2 separate regions of the Homo sapiens genome follow, and region 1 is linked to region 2. Evidence: promoter capture Hi-C in 16 types of primary human blood cells and fetal thymus (Javierre and others, 2016). All regions are on one chromosome and are shown on one strand. The core of a region is centred on a gene start or on the middle of the fragment in contact, and the rest is flanking DNA. Distances in the headings are between cores, read along the strand shown.

Region 1 (2,700 bases), core at 185-2,684, 600 kb after region 2:
TGGGAGGTGCCCTGTTTGCCCCTTAAAGTATTGCTTGCTTACTTTTCACTCAGAAAGCTCAAGGATATCTTGCATGCCTTTTCTCTGCTCCTCTATTTTTGCCACACCTGTATCAAATGCTTATCTGTATGCCTACACTTGATACTAGTTATTTATGTGTCTTCAGTTTGTGTTATTCTTACTGCTAATTTGTAGTTCTAATTCCTTGGTATTAAGTAAATGTGGTCTGTATGATTTACAAGTTTTTGGAATTTAAGAATACATTTTCCCTTGTGTTCTATGAATGTTTTTTTCTGTTGAGCACAAAGTTGTGTGTGTGCATGAAATCAGCGCTGTTTTGTTTAAATCTGCTACATCTTGTTAGTTTATGGGACTGTCTCCTTAGGAACATGAGGAAGCTTACCTTCTGAGATTATCCTTTTCTTTTAGTTAGCATTTGCAAATGTGTCTGTCCACCCTTTTGTACATTTTCAGCCTCTTGTTTCTGTTTTATGCCTCACCCCCTTGCCCACACACACCTTCCCTTTTTTTTGGGAGAGTTTAGTTTAATTTACTTGCATTTAACATGGTAACTAGTATATTTGGTTTTATTCCTAACACTTGCTTTGGAGCTTTTTATTTGCTTCTATGTCCCTGGCACCCCTTCCTTTTTCTTTAAGCCAAATTTGAAGAACTTTTCTAGGTTCTTTTTGTGTGTGTGTGTGTGTGGAGACAGTCTCGCTCTGTTGCCCAGGCTGGAGTGCAGTGGTGCAATCTCAGCTCACTGCAACCTCCGCCTCCCAGTTTCAAGCAATTCTCCTGCCTCAGCCTCCTGAGTAGCTGGGATTACTGGCGTGTGCCACCACGCCTGGCTAATGTTTGTATTTTTAGTAGAGATGGGATTTTTCACTATGTTGGCCTGGCTGGTCTTGAACTCCTGACCTCGTGGTCCACTCACCTCAGCCTCTCACAGTGCTGGGATTACAGGCGTGAGCCACTATGCCTGGCCTTTAGGTTCACTTTTATTTTCTCTATTCCATTAATTTTTTTGCCCTTTTTGCCCGGGCTGGAGTGCAATGGCGAGATCTCGGCCCACTGCAGCCTCCACCTTCCAGGTTCAAGTGATTCTCCTGCCTCAGCCTCCCAAGTAGGTGGGATTACAGGCATGTGCCACCATGCCCGGCTAATTTTGTATTTTTAGTAGAGATGAATTTAACCATGTTGGCCAGGCTGGTCTTGAACTCCTGACCTCAGGTGATCCACCCACCTCAACCTCCCAAAGTGCTGAGATTACAGGCATGAGCCACTGTGCCTGGCCACCATTAATTTTTTCCTAAGTTTTTAAAAAAACTTCCACAGTATAAATTACAACTTTCCTTTGCCTCTTCAGAACAAAACAAAATCATGACCATACCTTAACTTATATTTTATTGCAGTGGACTGGGTATTTTTGCTTCTAGATATTTACACATTATCTTTCCTCTTAGTACTCACTTAACAGTTACTTTAAGTTTTCCATCCATATTAGCGAACATTATTTAGTCTCAAGTATGTTTACACTGCATCATGTTTTCCCCTTTGTGAGTACTTTTTGTTTCTTGATCAGTAGTTTTCAGAATGTCTTTGTGTGTCTCATAAGTTTTTTCTCTCACCGTTGAACAATAAATGGTTCATTATTTGGCCAGTTCAAAATCATCTTTTCAGAAATAATAGAGACCTTTGCTTCTGTTTTTAGTACACAGTGTTACAGAGGGGAGGATTTTGGTCTTACTCTGTAGATACTGTTTCATTCCTCGGAAACAGAATTTTTCTCTATTCTTGCGGTAAAGGAAGTTAAAACTGTCCCTAAGACTGTGTTTAGATACCTGAGTGTATGGTATCTTTGTTTCTTTTTGGCCTTTTGCCCTTTTGGTCTAAGGATTCAGTCTCCTTAGAGCAGACAAAAATCTACTTAATTTAAGGAAACTTTTCTCCTTTTTCTCTGTTCTTGCTCTGTTAAAGTTCTCTTTATATCTTTAATGTTTCTTTTACTCTCTTCATCTCTTTGTTTGTTTGTACCAGGTTCTCTGAGATCGTGGTTCAGTTTGTTTGCTCATCAGCCAGGGCCATTCTGCTCTTGGATCTGCTGGGCCGGGCACATTGGTTCACGCCTATAATCTCAGCACTTTGGGAGACCGAGGCAGGCAAGCGGATCGCTTGAGCCTGGGAGCTTGAGACCAGTCTGGCAACATAGTGAGACCCTGTCTCCACAAAAAATACAAAAATGAGCTGGGCGTGGTGGTGCATGCCCAGCTACTTGGGAAACTGAGGTGGGAGGGAGTATGGCTTGAGCCCAGGAGGCAGAGTTACTTCTTTTTGTTTGTTTAATGGCTATAAGAGCCATCCTTCAAAAGTCTTTGGAGGTTGTAATAGTTGTACTATATCCTCTAAAACCTTGCATTCTTTGTTGAGTATAAATTGCAAAGCAGGCATGGGGGTGGGAGAAGCTTGGCCTTCTGGCTGTATTTGTTCCCTCAATTGTGTTGCCCATAAATTCCTTTGACTGTTATGTTTCTATTTTCTCTCAAGGTGTTTACTTGGGAAAGTCTCTTAGAACAACCCCCACCTTAAGAGACAGCCCAGAATCATTAGCTGTGATGACCCGGGACGAATTTATTTTCTGACCATTCTTGTCTTTCACTGCTTCTCATCTCTAGTTGTTATTTTAGAGTTTCATTGCCA
Region 2 (2,700 bases), core at 184-2,683:
TTAAGAAGTATATATCCTTGCATGTATGTAAATGAGACATACTTCTGCTGTATTCACAAGAGTATCATTAGTCAGTTATTTGTGTACTGGTAACAAATCCTAAGTATTTTAATACCATAACAAGGCAGGAAGCGAATGCCATTATAAATATACACGTATCATTCTCTTTCTCTCCAGTGTGAGGCAATGTGGTAAGGCAATGGCCAACTGTAAGACAGTCTCAGATCTCTAGTCTAGATCTCTAGAAACTGCTGGGGAGAAGCACACCCTGTTTTTTATTTTACAAATCATACTAGGATACGTTCATATTGAAAGCACTTTCAAACAATAATACAATTTTAATTTAAAATACACACACACACATATATATATGAATGTTTTGACACCAGCCTCCAGAGTCATTGGGTGCCTAACATGGGACAGTAGCCAAGATACCCCTCAACCAAGTTGGAGAACTTGAGCGGTAAAATTCCCCCCAAAACCACCATCCAAGCTTGCGAGTGTCCCCCTCGAGTCCGCGGTCAGCAGGGTGCGCCGCGGGTCCCGGGCCCGGAGGCCGAGCGGGCAGCAGGGGCCACGGTGGGCCGGGGCCTCCGGAGCTGACCAGGCCGGCCGCCCCTCTCCCAGCCCTAGAGCGCGAGGCCAGCGCTGGACACCCGGCCTTCCGCCCTGGAGTCGAGCCGTGGACGGCACCGGAGCCACTGCGGGGTCGCTTCCCGGGCCACCGAATCCCGGGGCCTCCTTTCGCCCCGACGCCTGTCAAGGGCGGGTCCGGAGCGGGGACTCGTCCGGGCGCAGCGGGAGTGTGTGGCGGGGCGCGGAGCCGGTGTCCGCCCGCGAGGGGCCTTCGCCGACCCCCGGGCCCCGCCGCCTCGCGTCCCCCCGGCCCAGCCCACTCCCCGCCGCCTGCCGTCGAGGTGGCGCCACCGACCAGGGCGGGCCGCGGGCCCGGCTCACCTTGGGGCCCTCAGAGGGCACGCGCGGGTCGTTCCACGTAGTGGTGCGGCTGTTGTGGTCCACGAAGAAGGGCCAGCCGGTCTGCGGGTCGATCTTGATCTCCCATCCGGGGGGCAAAGGGTCGCGGTCACCGTTGCCGGACGCCACCTGCATCATGGGCGAGTGGGTGGCGGCGCTCATGCTGGGTTGGGGTCTGCCCGCTGGGGCGCGGGTGCGGGGCGCTGGCTCCGGGCGCCGAGTCTCTGGCCGGGCCGCCGCCGTGGGCCCCTCTCCGCCGCCGACGTGTCCGGGAAGCCGGCGCCGGGCACCTTTATGAATTAAAGGCGGGGGTGACGTGGCCAGAGAGGGGTGGAAGTGTCTGGAAATAGCCTCCTCGCTGCCAGAGGGGAAGGAGGAGATAAAGGGAGGTAGCAACTGGCCGGCTAGAAACTTCTGGTCCAGTCCAGAGAAGTTGGCCGCGGCCCGGGGTTGGATGCGGAGCTCCGCCCTGAGTCATCGGCTATAATCGCGGCGGGCGGGGCAGAGGAGCGGGGGCGGGGCCTCGGCCCGCTCGCCCCTCCCCCACCTCCTCCCGCCCCTCCCCCTTCCGACTCGTGCGCGTGCCCGGGCCGGAGTCGCCGCGGGCGGGCGCGGGCGCGGCTTCGGGGTCCGCCTGCGGGTGGGAAGCCGGACGAGCTGGACTGGGGCCGTCCTCCGTGCGCCCCGGGCGGGTTTCGGCTTTCATAGTCGCTCTCTCCCTCTCCTTTGCGCCGAGTGAGTGTTCCCGGGGCCGGAGCCCGTGCTCCCCGTGCCTGCCGCCCGTCCTTCCTGTACAAACAAAACCATCTCGCCCACCTCCACCCCCTCCCCCATATATGATAGCCGAGGACCCTGAGGGCTGTCCGGGAGGAGCGCGGGGACTCTCATCTGACACCGGAAGGAAGCCAGGGAGAAAATGGAAGTCAGTGCAAACTCACCTGCCTTCCTTTGGAAACTTCAAGAAAAAAAGAGATTGTATCAACTGATGGCTTTTAGTCTCCTAGACTAAAAAGAAAGTTTCGTTGCAGCTTTAAAGATAAATCACATTTTCTTGGGTCTGGATCTTTTTTATGGTAGAGATTGGTTCTTGCTATCTTATATCTTGACCCTGATTTGGGAAGTAAAGACCGAATAACCATGACATTTTTTGTTTGGTTTATTCAATTGCACTTGTAACCTGTCAAAGGAGAAAATTACAACACATTTAAAGATCTTTTTTGTTGTTGTTGTTGTTGATTTTCATTTTTTAACTTTTATTGTTAAAGATCTTATTTGTGATTCTAGAAATTGGGCAACATCTCCATTAAATTAGAATAAGTGCTCCCATGAGCTGAGCAGAAGAGGTTGGTTTTATAGACAGAGAAGGGCTGAAGAAAGCAGAAACAAAGAACCAAGACTGGATTGGTTGTTTCAAAATTACTTTCCTTGTAAGGAGGGGACAGAGAGACAGAATCATAGAAAAATAACTGATGAGGGCTTGCCACCATGGCTCATGCCTATAATGCCAGCACTTTGGAAAGTCAAGACTGGAGGACCTCTTGAGTCCAGGAGTTTGAGACCAGCCTGGACAACACAGTAAGACCCCCATCTCTGCATAAACAAAAAATAAGCCAGGTGCAGTGGCTTATGCCTGTAGTCCCAGCTACTCAGGAGGCTGAGGTGGGAGGCTCATTTGAGCCCAGGAGTTTGAAGCTGCCATGAGCTATGATTTTGCTCTTCATGCCA

What was found. Contacts are between HindIII fragments. The CHiCAGO score rates a contact against its expected background, and 5 or more counts as called.
Region 1: a fragment that was not itself captured here is called in contact with the fragment with the promoter of BAG3 in region 2 in 1 of 17 cell types (naive CD8 T cells); the score reaches 5.9 in naive CD8 T cells.

What each region holds. Positions count from the first base shown.
Region 1 is chr10:119,045,274-119,047,973 of GRCh38, reverse strand. The region is part of intron 17 of EIF3A (eukaryotic translation initiation factor 3 subunit A); the gene reads left to right. Among named protein-coding and RNA genes, the nearest start is that of SNORA19, 14 kb to the left of the region's middle. The HindIII fragment of the contact is 2,067 bases long and covers 401-2,467 here.
Region 2 is chr10:119,650,113-119,652,812 of GRCh38, reverse strand. It overlaps BAG3 (BAG cochaperone 3), which reads right to left and starts at 1,433. Exons shown (of 4, transcript NM_004281.4): 1 at 958-1,433. The coding sequence starts at 1,137. RefSeq lists a silencer at 1,381-1,680 and enhancers at 1,881-1,960, 1,341-2,295. The HindIII fragment of the contact is 5,264 bases long and covers 496-2,700 here.